Linked DNA regions of Homo sapiens: all the other regions are linked to region 2. Evidence: promoter capture Hi-C in 16 types of primary human blood cells and fetal thymus (Javierre and others, 2016). All regions are on one chromosome and are shown on one strand. The core of a region is centred on a gene start or on the middle of the fragment in contact, and the rest is flanking DNA. Distances in the headings are between cores, read along the strand shown.

Evidence for each region. The method cuts DNA at HindIII sites, captures the fragments that hold promoters and counts their contacts. A CHiCAGO score of 5 or more calls a contact.
Region 1: a fragment that was not itself captured here is called in contact with the fragment with the promoter of UGT8 in region 2 in 1 of 17 cell types (activated CD4 T cells); the score reaches 5.7 in activated CD4 T cells.
Region 3: a contact is called between a fragment that was not itself captured here and the fragment with the promoter of UGT8 in region 2, in 1 of 17 cell types (M1 macrophages). The highest score is 7.1, in M1 macrophages.
Region 4: a fragment that was not itself captured here is called in contact with the fragment with the promoter of UGT8 in region 2 in 1 of 17 cell types (total B cells); the score reaches 6.0 in total B cells.
Region 5: a fragment that was not itself captured here is called in contact with the fragment with the promoter of UGT8 in region 2 in 1 of 17 cell types (naive B cells); the score reaches 5.3 in naive B cells.
Region 6: a contact is called between a fragment that was not itself captured here and the fragment with the promoter of UGT8 in region 2, in 1 of 17 cell types (total B cells). The highest score is 5.5, in total B cells.

Annotation. Positions count from the first base shown.
Region 1 is chr4:113,353,976-113,356,675 of GRCh38, reverse strand. It overlaps ANK2 (ankyrin 2), which reads right to left. Exons shown (of 46, transcript NM_001148.6): 38 at 1-2,700. Among named protein-coding and RNA genes, the nearest start is that of MIR8082, 200 kb to the right of the region's middle. RefSeq lists enhancers at 506-725, 73-1,272, 1,702-2,700. The HindIII fragment of the contact is 3,438 bases long and covers 1-2,700 here.
Region 2 is chr4:114,597,523-114,600,414 of GRCh38, reverse strand. It overlaps UGT8 (UDP glycosyltransferase 8), which reads right to left and starts at 1,608. Exons shown (of 6, transcript NM_001128174.3): 1 at 1,441-1,608. The HindIII fragment of the contact is 2,701 bases long and covers 511-2,892 here.
Region 3 is chr4:113,196,759-113,199,564 of GRCh38, reverse strand. It overlaps ANK2 (ankyrin 2), which reads right to left. Exons shown (of 46, transcript NM_001148.6): 4 at 456-554. Among named protein-coding and RNA genes, the nearest start is that of MIR8082, 46 kb to the right of the region's middle. The HindIII fragment of the contact is 2,443 bases long and covers 299-2,741 here.
Region 4 is chr4:113,442,768-113,445,614 of GRCh38, reverse strand. No RefSeq gene overlaps it. Among named protein-coding and RNA genes, the nearest start is that of MIR8082, 290 kb to the right of the region's middle. The HindIII fragment of the contact is 1,503 bases long and covers 505-2,007 here.
Region 5 is chr4:113,390,191-113,392,995 of GRCh38, reverse strand. It overlaps LOC105377374 (a long non-coding RNA gene), which reads left to right. Exons shown (of 5, transcript NR_199847.1): 4 at 2,175-2,294. Among named protein-coding and RNA genes, the nearest start is that of MIR8082, 240 kb to the right of the region's middle. The HindIII fragment of the contact is 3,026 bases long and covers 1-2,766 here.
Region 6 is chr4:113,549,162-113,551,861 of GRCh38, reverse strand. All of the region lies in intron 5 of CAMK2D (calcium/calmodulin dependent protein kinase II delta), which reads left to right. Among named protein-coding and RNA genes, the nearest start is that of CAMK2D, 210 kb to the left of the region's middle. The HindIII fragment of the contact is 5,372 bases long and covers 1-2,700 here.

The DNA.
Region 1 (2,700 bases), core at 1-2,500, 1.2 Mb after region 2:
ACTGGTTCTGGTAAAAGGCCTGAGTCAGCACCTTTTTTAAGCTGTGCCAACTCAGGTTCACTTTCTGAGGAGGAAGACACCTTCCTGCTCTCCGAAGTTACTAACACAGGGACACCACTTTCATCCTCCCCACTGCCTGTATGTTTTGGTTCATCCACATCTACTGAACAGTCAGCATCTGGGTCAGAAGATGAAGAAGATTCTTCTTGTTTGGGTTCTTTTTTGTAGTCCCTTTTCTGCTTTGCTTCTTGTTCAAGTTCATCAAACATTTTGATTTTGGTTACCATTTTAAACATCTCCTCTTCAGGTGTGAACCTCTTTTTCTCCCCGTTTTCTGAATCATCCTCCTCTGCACATTCATGAATCACAGCTGGTTTTGGTGTACTTACATCTGTGGTTTTGGGTGTAACCTCATAGCTGACTTCTTCAGAGCTGGGGGTGTCAGGAGAAAGGGGGCTCTTCCCTGAGCTCTCCATGAGCGATGTCTGCTCAAGACTGTCATCCTCAGCACTGCCATCAGGGTCTCGGAGTAGCCGGGACCGCACAGAGGCCACTTCCGTCAAGAGTTCTGTTTTGGCAACAGCTGCAGGAAGAGGAAAGTGACTTGGAAAAATTCCAGCCTTCATCTTTGGTTCAACAGGGCTGCTTTCCAGAGAGTCACGGCAAGGGGATTCTTTCAGAGGACTTGGCTCCAGAGAATCAGGGGTTTTGTGTGAAGAGTTATCTTCTAGCACAGGGCTGGCTTCCAGAGAGTCTTTGTGGCTCACTGCTAATGAGTCATCAGCCACAGCGCTGAGGACTTCGCTATCTCGGCTAGGGAGTGCAAGTTCTAACCCTTGGGGACTTCTAATGACTCCCTGAGGTTTTGATTCAGTTCCTGTATCTGTCTTTACAGAAGCCTCAGGCAGCGGCAAGGCCTTTGTCTCGTCTGAGGTGGCTGTGGATTCTTGAACCTCACTATCAGTTTGTGTCTTGTGGGCTGAACTACCAAAGGTACGTTGACCTTCATCACAGGCTGCCTCCTCAGTCAGTCCTGTAGGTGTCTCTTTAGCTAATGCTACACTACAGCTGCCTGTGCAATCATCTTGTCTTTTAGGGCTTGTGTCTTTGGGAGAGCCTAGAGTGGCCTCTTTCTGAAAACTCTCAGTAGAGGTCTCTGAGTCCTCAGTGACTGTGGCACCTCGCTCTTCAGAGCCACCAGTAATGTCTTTGGTCGTGGGATGCTCTTTTTCTGAACGAATTTCTGTGGTGGTTTCTGTCTTGGTGCTTTCCTTTGTTTCCCCAGTTTGCTCCTCACTTTTCTTTGGTGAGAAAGAAAGGCTTTCTGGGCTCGTCTCAGGGGTCTCTGCTAGGCCTTCATGCTTATAGCTTTCTTCTGAACTAATCTGAGGGGTCCCCTCCATCAGGCTGCCACACGGAGAGCCGGCTACCCCCTCATTCTTTAGGCTTTCAGAACTGCCATCTAAAGCACCGCTTTGTAAAGACAGAGCTGGAAGGAACTCATCTTTCATGTAGTCGAGTGGAAATGTTGTGTTGAAAGGACTAGTGAGTACTTGGTCTAAGTGAAGCTGTGCCTTTTCTGTCTCCTCACTCAGGCGGAATTGTTGGTATTTGTCATTGTCTTCCAACTCTTGCTTAATGACCTCAGAGAAGTCAGTGGAGGTTTTCCTATCTGGGCTGATCTGTAGATCCATGTCTCCCTGCTCATCAGCCATCTTTTCTTTGGGCACTTCGCTCTCTCTGTGGCTTTCTTCTTCAGGCACTGACTGAACAGGTTCAGGTATTTTGTGGCTGAGAACTTTCTCCTTTCCTCCAGCTGCATCTTCTTTCTTAACTCCTATGGAGGAAACACGAACTCCTCTTTTGGATTCTGCTGTGCCCGTTACCGGGAGTCTCTGGCCTCGTTTGATTGTCTGATTCTCTGTTTTCTGAGCTTCTCTCTGGGTTAGTATCGGCCCCTTTTCTTTTTCTACCCGAACTTTACCTTTCTCTTGTGGCTGCTTTTGTTTTGCTGATTTGTGCTCAAAGAGTCCAGTTTTATGTTTAGAAGGGTCCTGACCTGACTGGAAAGCCTTCATCAGCTCCCGAACAGACATGGTTTCCTCAATCCTCTCTGTTTTTGAAGTGGGGGATACAGGTGGTTGCTTTTCTGTTTTGCCAGAAGGTGACACAGGCAGGTGCTTCTCAGTTTTCCCAGCTGTTGATACAGGTTGGTGCTTGTCCGTTCTTCCGGAGGGTGAAACAGGCAAGCGTTTTTCTGTTCTCCCAGGCGATACTGGCGGGTGTTTTTCTGTCCTCCCGGAGGGCGATACAGGTGGACGTTTGTCTGTTTTGCCTGAAGGCGAAACAGGTGGGTGTCTTTCTGTTTTTGTAGATGACACAGGAGAGTGCCTTTCAGTTTTTGTCGAGGGTGATACAGGTGAGTGTTTCTCAGTTTTACTCGATGATGACGCAGGTGAATGTCTTTCCGTTTTTGCAGAGGGTGACACAGGTGAGTGTTTCTCAGTTTTACTTGATGGTGATACTGGAGGGTGCCTTTCAGTTTTTGCGGAAGAGGAAAGAGTAGAGTGTCTTTCTGTTTTAGGGGAGGGAGACCCTGGCGCATGTCTCTCTGACTTCAGAGAGGGTGACGCAGCTGGATGTGGCCTGTGGGTGGTCTTTTTTGGCACGTCCTCCTTGCCTTTGACTCTGATGGGCAAC
Region 2 (2,892 bases), core at 359-2,858:
ACGTTTTTGAACATGAAATTATCAGAAATGATAACAATTTGGCATCTAGCCAAACTCCCTAACATTCACGTCATTGATACTGAAAAACTGGTAGTACAAGGTGACAGCCTGAGGGGACTGAAGATTTTTGGAGTATTTGGAGTAGTGTGGTTTTTTTCTAATTTTTACCAATAGGATCCCCAGAAATAAAAGACTCTATCGTCACTGCTAACACTGGCTCATAATAAAGGTGATTCTCCAGAGCACGCCTGGTTTGATACCGCCACCCACTCCTTCCCTTGGCGACATTTTCCTGCTAAGAACGCCTAGTTAGCGCAATCCAGCCATTCGCGTTAGTTCTCAGAACTCTCTCAGAAGTTCTCTACCTTCTCTCCTCTCCCCGCCTAGATGCTGAAAGGTGATGGGAACTCGCGGTACAGGTACAGAGGCTATTCCTTTCCTAAGGAAGTGCTGCACAATGGCAGGTTTACCGTACTCAATTTTATAAACCCTCAATTAAACCAGAAAGCTTGTATATAGAGATTGGGTACCCCGCCCACCTCCTCAGATTGTCCTTTTGCCCCGACGCACTGCATCTACTTGCACTCTCCGATGCGGTTTGCCTCCTTCAAATCCAAAACACACATACCAGGCTCCCTCGCCGCTCCTCCAGTCCATGGAAGGCGCCCTTCTTTTTGCCAGCAGCGCGTCCTTCTCTCCCCGCCCGCAGGCGCTCACCTCTTCTCTAATCCCGGGGGCCCGCACAGGCTTCTCTAATGCAAGGGCACCCCGTACCATTCCCAAATCGGCGCGGGGACCCGTGAAACCCTGCCACCACTGTACACTGTCCATTGTCGAGAGTCGCGCGGGCACGCGGAAACGGCGGGCCCCGAAAAGTCTCAGCGAGCTTGTACAGCCCCAAGACATTCCCCACCCCCAACACATCCCGCTCTTGTTCCTCCTTAGGGGGAAGACGGAGTAAAGGGGAGTTGAAGAGGTCCCGAAGCTCCTCCTGGTCCCCCACCTCCATCCCTGCCCTGGCAGCTGGCTCTGGCCTCTGGGCTCCGCGGTGCCCATCCCTTCAGGGGTCAAGTACAAGGTCCTCGGCCGAATCGCCTCCCCGTTATACCCTCCCTCTGCCTTGAGCGCACAAACGCGAGAGAACCCTCGAACGGATGCCATATGGCAGAAACAGGATCGCGGGCGCTATGAGGGGCCAGCCTAAAAAGATCTCCTTCACACCCCCTCAACCCCTAGCCTTTCTCCCTACCCCGCCAACCCCCACTAACCACTTCTAACTTCCTCAGCCCAACCCTGTCTGTGCTTTCTAATTCCCACCCCCCCGCCCCTGGACAGCAGCCATTCGCCCGGCACTCACCTCAGGGAGCAAACAACGCCCCTCTCCTCCACCCAGACCGCCCCCCCTTCCGCCCTCTGGAACGGCGTGGTCCCTCCGCTCACCTCGTCTCTTGGCTGCCCCGCGCGAGTTTGAGTGTGTGTCTGCCGCGTAATTGTATCCGGGACAGAAGGGACCTGTGTTTGTGCGCTGAATCAGGTGTCGCCGCCTTCGGTGGTTCGGGGGCGTAAGGGAGGCTTCGGAGTTAGCGTGTTGGCTAAGGAGGGCTCTCTGGGTTCACAGTTGATAGCAATGCTTTAACCGTGTCCTCCCTCGGGTCCTCAGCGCGCCTGCTCGTCCGCAGCTCCCAGCGGGCGGCCAGGCCCCCCGCCCCCCAGCCGCGCCCCGCCCTGCGTGCGGCGAGCAGAGTCGGAGCGCGCCGCTGCCCTTCCGCACTTGGCTCAGCGGGGCACGACACGGGCCGCCACGCGCTCAGCCTAGCATCACTCGCCTCTGACTGCGAGCGCCTCCAGCTCCCCGGGCTGGGGCATGGATGCAGACGCGCCTTCGTACCACGCGCTCGCAGGCTGGGCAAGGGGCAGCGCGTTGGGATCCGGCCAGTCGTCCGCTGAGCGAGGTTGGCTTGCAGGCTGGGACTTTTCGCGAGCCCTCTGGGCGCTCGAGTTGCGAACTCTGACAACGGCACGTGGCCCCGCCCACTCTTCCCTCTTTGCGAGGCGTGTCCCGCGCCCTTTCTGCCACCACCCACGTAGTCCCTGTGCCCGCCTTTTATCATCAAGGCGGCTCAGTGAGCTCTGCGTGTTGATGTCGCGCCTTTTCTCATCTTCCTGCCTTTCCTGCCTCACTTCTGCTGAATCCATTCAAAAGTTATACTTGGGCAAGTGGGTGGAGGAGTTAGGAAAATTAAAAGAGGGATGCTTAGGTGAGCAGGTACCTGCACTGCCGCCAACCCAGGCTTCAATTCTGGCTCTCTTGTAGCGGAAAGCCTTAAAAAACGCGAGTTTGGGGATCCTGAAAAAAAGTAAATAGGGTTGCTGGGCTGAATAACATCCCTCCTCTCAGGCTCCTGCTGAAAGGGCCATTCATGATTTGCCTGGTTGAGCCTGTGGCGACTTTATTCTGACGAATCTGCCTTTGCCAGCAGCATAACCTTGCCAAGTTGGCGTCTTGACCAGCAAGCAACTGTGCCCAAGGAAGCCTCTCTGTGGTGCCTCAGACCTGAGAGGCCGAGTGCCTTTGAGCGCCTGAGGTAGATTGTGAGTTTCATGAAAACCGAGAAAGTCTAAGTGTGCATGTGCGTAAGATATTTTATATATATATATCTCATATATATATGAGATATGTCTATATAACGTGGACTGAATTGTTTATTGTTTATGTTTCGTGTCGAGCATAAATTCCAGAAGCTAAGATGCTTCCATAGCACACAAACGTTATGCGTTTAAACGTTGGAAATCAAAAATGCCATGTCAGGTCATTCTGTCCTTGTTCCAAAGTGAGATTCAGAAATAGGTTGGGATTTTCTGCCCTTAGATAAGAAAACGGAAATTATATTT
Region 3 (2,806 bases), core at 271-2,770, 1.4 Mb after region 2:
TATTAGTAAAGCTCACATTAGGGGTGTAAACTGACCAAAGTAGTGTTATTCCCACCTTATGGCAGATTTTCCACTGGAATGTAAATCTTTCAAGTATATTTTAAATTTACGGAAAGAGAATACTTTTATAGAGTAACACGAAACTTGCATGAATAATTCATATTTCACAGATGTCACTGTCATTCTGAAAAAAATCACTTTATATTCTTTTGAAAAATACTTAGAGACAATGATAGACTTACATTTTTCCAGTGTTAAGTTACATTAAAAGGGAGATTATATGTTGAAAAAATAAGCTTCATCATAAAGGTTAATAAAATTATTTGGCTAAAATAAATAACAAAGCACTTATAATAAATTTATCAGTAGAACAGCTAGCTAAACACATTAAATCAATTTCACAAAACTGTTCTAATTTAAATGTATGTACATCAGGGAAAATCTGAATGGAATACCTGAGACTGTGCATTAATATTGGCTCCTTCCTTAACAAGAACTTTGACAACTTCTGCTTGTCCAGCCAAAGATGCAATGTGAAGAGCGGTATTTCCCTTCTGTTTTGGAGAAACAAAATAGAAAATGTTCAAGGTTTCTGAATTTTGCAGAAATCAAAATGTGCAGGCATTTTTCAACTTCACTAATCACTTTAACCGATTAAAATTTGTTATTTATCAAGATAGTAGCCCACTTACGAAGAGATTATTTTTTACCATCAAAAAAAAAAATTGGCCACCTCATATAGTGTCTTCCTTTTCTATTTTCACAATATTGGTTTAGTGTTAACACGGAATGACTGTATTTTCAATGAATCAAAAATTTGTGGGGGGTGTGTGTATGTGTCAATATCTCATGAGATTCATGCAATTTAATTAACAACTAAAGAATCCTATTGCAAAGAAATATTAACTAAAAAAAGGTTTACTGAAACATTGAGTTTCTTTCACCTTGCAAAGAAACCTAGGAATTTTTAGTGGTAGAGAAACGAGCTGCTTATAGTTATGTTTGCAGCTACTGGGGCACTTGAGAATATGTTGGGAATAAGAAAAATAAATTTTACATAAATCATAACAGTACCAATGATTTTCTACCATTTGCTACATCAAAATTTACCAGCCACAACACTAACACCAATGAAAAATAATTTAAACCTTTTGTGAAAATAAAGGCCAAGAGATTAAAAATACCTATGATGTGATTAAAATAAATAACAAAAAGAAAAAAAAACCAGAAACCAGTAGATTCCAAGCCATAAAGTTTGGACTCTAGTTCTCTTTCTGTCTCCAGCTCACTGTGGGAGCATTAGCCACTCACTTAATATTTGGGGGCTTCAGTTTTTTTCTGTTTAAGTGAGATTCTTTTCCAGGAAATTCTACAATTCTATGATTAAAAGTAAGCCTAATTTTTAAAATATCAACAGAGTTTAGAAGAAAAGAAAAACAAAAATAGTAATAAACACTTAAGCAGGCAAAAATAATTGGCTTAATGAATACACTATATTAACATGGGCAACTATACACCATCTCATACCAGTCAGAATGGCTATTACTAAAAAGACAAAAAATAATAGATGGTGGGGTTGTACAGTGGCAGCCTCAAACTCCTAGGCTCCTGTGAGTGCTCCTCTTGCTACAGCCTCCAAAGTAGCTGGGATTACAGATGTGAGCCAGCACACTGGGCTTCAAATAGATATTCTTTAAATATTTGTTTAAAATGTATTTGATGTGCCAGAGAGAAATGCTTATAAAAATGTTTACTCCCTCTTTATGTTCGAAGTAAGAAATTTATTGCATATAGTGAATTCACATGTTTACTTCTGTGGAATTGCCAGTTGTTAGTTTGTTTTGTTTTTTAATTTCTGCTAGAATTGCTGTTTACTATACTACAAGCAGAACCAATGCACATTTTGTCAATTATGCATGAGGCATTGGAAATCCACGTTAACTGGCCATGTTTTTAATTTATTCTTGTACTTTTTTGTTTGTTTGTTTACTCCAGATTAGACTAGTGTCCCATCTAGAGACCAGAGTGCCTGACTTCTCTCTCTACATCTTCCACAGCCATATTATCACATTCAAGGCTTGGTCAGCAGACTTGGCTCTGATTAGCACTGTATTTTTCCAAATAAAATTTTACCTTCCAAAGGCAAAGATTGTTGCCATTCATAATAGTTTTTTAAATGTCTGTTGTTTATGAAATGAATCCTCGACAAGTTCAAATATGTTTTAGCAAAAGCAGCATCAAGGAACAGTTTCTGGTTTGCCAAGCGTCCCGTGCATTTCTTTTAAAATGAGTCCAATTTCCTTACCAAACACATTATGATGATAAAATCTAATATTGCCCTAACAATTCAATCCATGACCCAAAATCTCTTTTCTTATTAGAGTATAAACGATTCTGCATAGTCTCATACCAAACTGAATGTATACATTTAAAATTACTTGTTCTTTTCCATAGAGAAGTTTCCCACATGGGTTTATTTTTAAACAATGAGTTAACCGTAGGAAAACAGGTGCTATTGTCTACAAAGGATTATGTTAATCTCATCCTCTGTGAATCGAAGGGGGAAAGATAAAATTTTATAAACTAGGTTTACAGATTTTTCAGACTGATGTCCCATAAGTCCTTAAATGAAACAATTCACTCTGCAGAGTTTAATGGAGGGGGTTTTAATTTTAATTCTGCAGGTTAAGAATCTTGGTGTTCTAGCCAACCTCTGAAATGTACGAGAGGGAAAAGAAGCTTTAAGTGGGTGAGGTGTGGTGGTTCACGCCTATAATCCCAGCACTTTGGGAGGCTGAGGCAGGAG
Region 4 (2,847 bases), core at 7-2,506, 1.2 Mb after region 2:
AGCCCCTTTCCCGGAAGATTTCACTTTGGGATCATATCTAGTTTCTAACTTGGCTCCACTGCCTTCTGAGAGATTCATGCTTTTTAGCCAACAAAACTCCTTCTTGAAACTTATCCAAGTAAACATGCTCTACTTTTGGAACAAGTCACACTTAGCCATGGGAGATTTCACCATCTGATTTATTACTCATTCCCCAAGAGCCATTCTCAGGGTTGAGACATCGAGGCTGGAGAAGCATCTTGGGCCTCGCTCAATGTGATCCGTTCGCTGATGCTATAATGCCACTTGGCAGGAAAGTGTGAAAAGGAAGTGAGGGAAAAAGGGGGTGAGAGTTTCGAAGCTCCAGGTCTCAGCAACATGAAACTTCAAGTATATTTCTCTTTTGGGTTAATCCCATCATTGTGTTTCTCATCCACAAAAAAACTTTGCTGGCTGTCCCATGATCATGAATGTCCTCTCTCATTTTTAGTGTATTTGGTTTCTTTTCTACTTTCCCTTCAAGCTTACCAGAAAAACTATGGAGCACTATATACTTTTAATGATGATTTTATAAGAGAGATTTTGAAATGCTGAGTATCTTTTGTTCATATCATTCTTCATCTGCATACAGAAAAGGGGGTATCCTGTTCTCCCAATTACATAAACACAAAAAATACAAGATCATACTATACATTCCTTTTTGTAACTTGCTTTTTCACTTACCAACATATAATAAACAATAAATTTTATTTCAGAAAATATGCTTCTGTTATGGCTAGTGGCTTCACTGGAATCTGTTTATCTAAATGATACACAATTTATTTAATCACCTATTGTTGAACATGTACATTTTCTTATTTTATGCTACCAACAATAAGCCAATTAAGTAATTCTTGTAGCCAATTTTTTGCACAGACACTTATTTCCTTAGGGAAATTGCCAGAGGCAAAAATACTGAGTCATCCATTCCATTTTAACTTACAAAAACAGTTATGATTTATAGTGCAGAAATTACCAGAAAGATAAAATTACATACCTAAGCTAACTTAGTGGCGAAATTTTATCACAAATCCAGGTTTCTTCATTTCATGTCCAGGGTCCTTTGTACTGTCCAGTCATCTGCAGCTTTTTTAAGCCAGCATGCTTGGCTCTGGCAACAAGTGCAAGGCACCACACAGGAGAGAGATTCCAGAACAATATTGCTATTCATAGCTTTAGTTCTGAGATGCTGTCCTCAACTTGTTCTTTATACCTGATTACATTCTTCCCAGATCTTCCTATACATGGGCCTTGCTATTGAGGCTGTTGTTTTAGTTTTGTTGTTGTTTCTTCATTTTGACCTTTAAGAGCGACACACTCATTTCTTACGTATCTTTTAGGTTTGAAAGTCCTGATAGAGCTACTCAGCCTAAATTATCGGTTTCAGAACTACTGTATAGATCAGAGAGAATGACACAAGAATGCAAAAGGATCCATTTTTCTTTATAACCCCACCTTAGCTGTTATTTTTGTTATATGGGTACTAGCAGAAGAAAAAGAGAAAGAAAGAAAGAAGAAAGAAAGAAAGAAAGAAAGAAAAGAAAGAAAGAAAGAAAGAAAGAAAGAAAGAAAGAAAGAAAGAGAAAGAAAGAGAAAGAAAGGAAGGAGAGAGAGAGAGAAAGAAAAGAAGGAAGGAAGAAGGAAGGAAGAAAGAAAGAAAGAAAGAAAGAAAGAAAAGAAAGAGAAAGAAAAAAGGAAAGAAGGAAAGCGAAAGAGAAAGGAAGAAAGAAGAGAAAGAAAGAGAGAGAAAGAAAGAAAGAAAAGGAAATGCCTCATTTTCAGAAGCCCAGATAAATGGATAGCTTATAGATGCTATCCAGTCTAACAGCTAATTTTGTAAGTGAGAAATCCCAAGAAATGGAATAGCCATTGTCCATTTAAAAACTGGAATGGAAACAGGATGAATTTATGAAACCTAGAGCAGTGTTTCTCAATTTCGTCCCAGGACCACTTTACACTCCTAAATGTAATTCATAACCTCATAAAGCTTCTCTCTGTGTAGGTTATATTTATTGATATTTGCCATTTAAAAAAATGAAAACTAAAAAATTTTCAAACACAAAAATATTCAAGCACATTGTCCATTAGCTCTCAGAGGAATGATGTCACAACACTTTTTTTTTTTTTTAAGACAGGGTCTCACTCTGTGGCCCAGGCTGGAATGCAGTGGCTCAATCATGGCTTTCTGCAACCTTGACCTCCTTGAGCTCAACTGATCCTCTCACCTCAACCTCCTAAGTAGCTGGGACTACAGGCATGCACCACCACCACACCCAGCTAATTTTTATATCTTTTGTAGAGATGGGGTTTTGCCATATTGCCCAGGCTGGTCTTGAACTCCTGGATTCAAGCGATCCACCCACCTTGACCTCTCAAAGTGCTGGGATTACAGGTGTAAGCCACCGTGTCCAGCCTTGCCACACATTATAGAGCCTCTGGAAAACACTGTACACTCGTGAAGGAATAAGAATGAAACAGGAAGTTAAGGTTTTAGTATTATAATGAAAATAGTTTTAACCTCTTGCAATCCTTGAAAATGTCTCAGGGACCCCGGGATGTTCTTGAATCACACTTTAAGAATGTCTGTGGGCCAGGCACGGTGGCTTACCCATGTAATCCCAGCACTTTGAGAAGCCGAGATGGGTGGATCACTTGAGGTCAGGAGTTCAAGACCAGCCTGGCCAACAGGGTGAAACCCCATGTCTAAGAAAAAAAAAAAATAGCTGGGTGTGGTGGTGGGCACCCGTAATCCCAGCTACTCAGGAAGCTGAGGCAGAGAATCACTTGAACCCGGGAGGTGGAGGTTGCAGTGAGCTGAGACCACACCAC
Region 5 (2,805 bases), core at 4-2,503, 1.2 Mb after region 2:
AAACAGTGGCTTAAAATATATTTTAATATCCGGTAGGTCTACTGAGTCAGGTGACAACATTCCTTTTTTTCTTACCCATAGAATCTTCTTGATTAATTCACATTCTTGTTTTTTCTTCCTATCAACTCAAATTAAAATCCTATAAGCAATTTTATGGTGATCTTATTAAATTAAGAAATAAATTAAGAAGGAATTGATGTATTTAAATTGTTATATGCCTATATATATATAAGTTAGTGCAAGTCCCTCCATTTATGGAAGTAAAAACTTGAAACATTTTAAAATAGGCTCTTTCTAAATGTATAACTAGGCATTTATTCTCTATTGTAAATGATATATAAAATTCCCTTCATTTTTATTTTTAATTTGGAGGGGTCTGTGTGTGTGTGTGTGTGTGCGTGTGTGTGTGTGTGTGTGTGTGTGTGTTAAGGAAAGTTAGACATATTCTATGATGAGTTGAAAAGAGTGACCAAATGGTTGACAGTAATTTTTCTTTCAGTTGGTTCCTTTTGGCTTTCCTGATTCACAAACATCGTTTGCATATTGACAATGTTTACCTATTCTTTTTTTTATTTTTATACTGTATTTCTTGTTTTTTGTCCATTGTATTGAATTGAGTAATACTTCCTTTTTAATATTATGCCTTTAATACTTTGCCTTTAATGTTATGCCACTAAGGACATAGGGGACTTTATTGTCTTATTCTCAGTTTTAAAGCAGAAATGCTCCCAGTGTTCATCTTCAAACAAGATGAATTTTGGTGTGAGGAGCATGTGTCCCCTTCTTAGTTCCCGTAATTAAATTAAAAAAAAAGTTACAAGATAAAAAGGCATGAAGTAAAAGGTATTCCTGATGAAGCACAAATTCTAGTTAAAATCAAAATCAATTGTGAACTACATCTTAAAAGTAAATTCTTTCTAACTGTATTATGTGACAATAGAATCTTCAATTTGCTTTCTCTTTGTGTTTCTTAATAAATGTATGAGGATTTTGACCTTTTTACAAGAAAGAATTCATAAATACTCCCTAACTGATATCACCTTGTAAGCAGATGAGCTAACAATTTAGATACCAATTTTAAAAGGAATGATAGGCCAGGTGTGTGTCTAACACCTGTAATCTCAGCACTTTGGGAGGCTGAGGCAGGTGGATCACTTGAGTCCAGGAGTTTGAGACCAGCCTGGGTGACACGGTAAAACCCCATCTTTATTAAAAAAAAAACCACAATAAAAATGAATGGTTTAATTGGTGATGCTGAGGGCCAGCACAAGGCAGGCAAGAGGAGAGATGTGGTTGTGTTGGGTGAGAAATCAGAGATAAGGTTTTTTCTGTTGTTGCAAATTATTGCAAAAGCTACGCTAAAATGATTGTAACTTAAGTGCTCTTAACAAAGGATTATTTGATCATTTGTAAAGGAAATGCAATTCATACATACACATACACATACATAATTTGATTGCCTTCAGGAAGAATACATCCCTTCCTACTTTCTTAAAAGGACATGAAATGGATGCTAAATTTCACCAAATGCCTCTTGGCCAACTATGGAAACATTGGTATGTGGTTGTTTCTCCTTTAATCTTCCAATATGAGGAATTTCATTAACAGCTATTACTAATGAACTATTTTTGCTTGGAACGAAACCATTTGTTTATAGTTTGTTTTTAAAATGCATTGTCAATTATATTATATTTTATTTGTAATTTTTGTAAAGAGATTCCTTAGTGAAATTGGTCTAAGAATTTTTGTTGTGTTATTTTGAGGTTCTTTTGATGTAATTTGCCCAGTTTGGGTACCAATGATATACTTGCTGTCTTAAAACAAGATAAACTAGGAATTTTTCTCCTGGGAGTCTCTGGTGGTTTCAGTATTAAAATTATCTGTGTATTGAGAGTTTAAGAGAATCCATCTGTGACAGCACCTAGATCTCATTCTTTCTTGTGGGGTTAAATATTTGCTGACTCAAATTATTTTATGGTTATTGGGGTTTACCTTTATTATCTCTTCTGTGGTAGATTTTATTAATTATCTTTTAAAAATCATCTCTCTTATTGGAGTTTTTATATTTACTTACAAAAAATAAGGTAACATTTTCTTACTATTATCTATTATTTCCTCTCTAATTATCTCCCCCCCCTTTTTTTGTTTTTGTTTGTTTGTTTGTTCTGAGACAGTCTTGCTCTGTCACCCAGGCTGGATGGAGTGCAGTGGTATGATCATAGCTAACTGCAGCCTCAATTTCCTGGGCTCAAGCAATCCTCCTGCCCCAGCCTTCCAGGTAGCTGGGAACACAGGTACGCATCCCCATATTTCATTAATTTTTAAATTTTTTTGTAGAGACGGAATTTCACCACATTGCCCAGGCTGGTCTAGAACTTCTGGGCTCAAGCAGTCCTCCCACTTTGGCCTCCCAGAGTGCTGGGATTACAGGCATGAGCCACAGCACTCAGCCTCCATTCTCTTTTTTATCATTGCATATTTCTACTTTCTCTTTTACCTCTTGATGATGTTACTAGCCATTATCAATATTATTATTTCAAAAGGTAACTCTTAGATATATTTTGCATTTTCACATTTTTATTTCCTACATTAAAACCTTCATAAATTGAAGGTTTCTATTTATCTCAATATATATAATATGTGGCATGTTCTCTTAAGTTTGCCATAGGCCAGCCCCTCTCCTGATTTTCTATGTTCAGACAATTCACATATTATTTTCCTGTCTGGCTACTCTCAGCACAGGAATTAGAACCCTAGTTTGAAGCTTTTAGTTTTCTTCTGACCTCTGTTTAGCCATATCTCATA
Region 6 (2,700 bases), core at 174-2,673, 1.0 Mb after region 2:
TGTAGTTAGATTACATATTTTATCAAAAACAACAAGGAAAAACAAACCAAAACACCCCACCTAATTGGAATGACTTCTGCTAAAGCAATATATTTTTTAGTGAAAGTCAGAGATCAAAGATTGAAATCCTCTAATCCCTAGATAGATTCTAGGTTGCCCAGTGGTAGCCAGTAGTCACATGTGGCTATTGCAATTTCAATTAATTAAAATTAAATTAAATTAAAAATTTATTTCTCAGTTGGTCTAACCATGTAGTTGGTCTAGCCAACTGCCTAGTAGCCACAAGTGTCTAGTAGCTACCAATTGGCCAGACCAGATATAGAACATTTTCATCATCACAGAAAGTTCTACTGAACAATGAATATCTAATCAGAAAACAGAAACAGCCTGAAAAAAGTCTCAGTGGTCTCTTTAAGGAACTATTATTAGCTAATTAACTCTTTGGAAATTTCATTAAAACCCTTGAACCCCTGAGTTGAAATATATTTATTCAGGCATTTAAGAGAGTTCAAGAGTAATTTTTCAATCTTGTTAATTGGCAAAATCTTTACAAAAGTTTAAAAAAGGCTAAGTTTTTTGTCTAATTTGCAACTTCCTAGGCTATCCAAGGCAACACTTTTGGAGTGGAGTAACATTAACCACTTGCTTAGATGTTACTGGATTGCATGGTGTAAATTTTCCTGTGTACTTTTATATATTCTGTAGCTGTCATTTATTTTTAAAAATCTGATCAAGAGTGATTGGCTCATTATTAGCAATGTAAATGAGATGTTTGGGAGCAGAGATTGACTCTGCTCCCATTCTCCAATGCCATCAGAGCTTCCCAAGGCTTGCTAATCCCATTGTAGCCTGACCCTCAACAGATGTCCAGCTGATATTAAGGTTCCCAGCCCCTCCTTGCCCTCAGAGGCACACTTCTAAGTTTCTAATTTTTCTTCTTGGTTTAATGCACTGTTTATGGCACTTTGTGAATCTATCTGTACATGACTACGCTCTAATTTTTTAATGGAATTTTTATGGCCAAAGTCAAATAGAAAATTCTGTGTAATTTATACTATGATGAGTGAATCATCACTTGCTCAGTTTACCCCAAATCCCCACATTAGGGTCCTGAAAGGGGCCATGGGGAACCTCTGGAAGTAGCTATTTGGCCACTTGCCAAGAAACAGTAATACTTTTAATCAAGGTACTAAACTAGGGAATTTCATTAATGTTACCCTTCAAAGTTATGTTAAGCAGGCTGTTACTTGGTTTGAAAAATACTGGTTGAAATTAAAATAGAGACTATTTTTACTGCTAAAGAGCTCTAAGATATTTTTTATGAAAGCTCTCCGATAAAATCAAAGAGAAGGAACATTCCCTTCTAAATACATAAAGAGGCTATTTCTCAGTCAGATGTGGTGGCCCACTCCTATAATCCCAGAACTTTGGGAGGCCAAGGTGGGAGGATTGCTTGAGCCCAGGAGTTCGAGACCAGCCTGGGCAACATGGTGAAACCCTGTCTCTGCTGAAAATACAAAACTTAGCCAGGTGTGGCAGCATGCACCTGTAGTCCCAGATAATCAGGAGGCTGAGGCAGGAGAATCACTTGAACCTGGGAGGTGGAGGCTGCAGAGATCATGCCACTGCACTCCAGCCTGGGCGACAGAGTGAGACCCTGTCTCAAAAGAGGCTATTTGATTGTCAAAAAATTGTAAAAATTTTTTACTAGTTCTCAAAAATTTAAGAATTGAATCCATTCTCACTAGTAAAAAAAATGGTGAAGTCCATTTAGTATGTGTTATTGTTTACTTCTTTATCTTCTGTTATTCCCAAGATTCAATAATTTATGCTTGTTGTTTGAGAACAGGAAGAGAAATATTCTTAAAGAGTAGTGCAAAGTGAACATTATTGTAAAAGAAAAAAGATTCCTATGGTTTAAAAATAATGACCAATACTCAAATAAACAATGTAGTCAACAGCAATGAATGTGAGACGCTTTTAGTGGTATTGTTAATAAAAGAGCTAGAAAATCATAGTCATGATCAATTTTTAAAATATTTACATTGTAATAAATCAGATGGTGATTACTTTTTTAAATTCAAGATTTTTCTTTAGAATAATATTATTTTATACATTAAGTGGTTGAAAATGTCCTTATTAAAATGTTTGCTTCATCTTTCAATGAATAAATGTAGTTCAGGATGTACTTGCATTTGAATTGCACAGTGAACTTATACAAAATTCATCAGTGTGATGTGTTCTGCATTATTATATGTCAGATGACAGTTCACAGGACCTTATAGGTGCCAAACAAGGATTTCTCCTCTCTAATTAGCAGTCCCATTTGATATCAGTGAACCCTTAATAAGAATAGCATAAAATGTGCATTTTGATATAGTATGAAGCAAAAGTTTTTCTTCACTGAAGTGTATGGAAGTGGGTTTAATAATTACCAATGCTCCAGGGGATTGTAAATTTGTATTTATTTATTCTTTGAAAGCTCCCTAGCTCTTCCCCAAAGTATTCTTACACTAAAGAGGGGTTTATTTTATTCATGAGTTTACTTTAAATTCTCCCTTTATTGTTGGAGACTTGCATTTGTTTTCCTGTTATATACTTTACAAAAAGCAACGCTTCTAAGGCGAAATGGTAAATGTGTCCCTCCATTTTTTTTGACCCTTGTTTCACCTGCCACTTCATCTGTGTTTACCCTCTTGT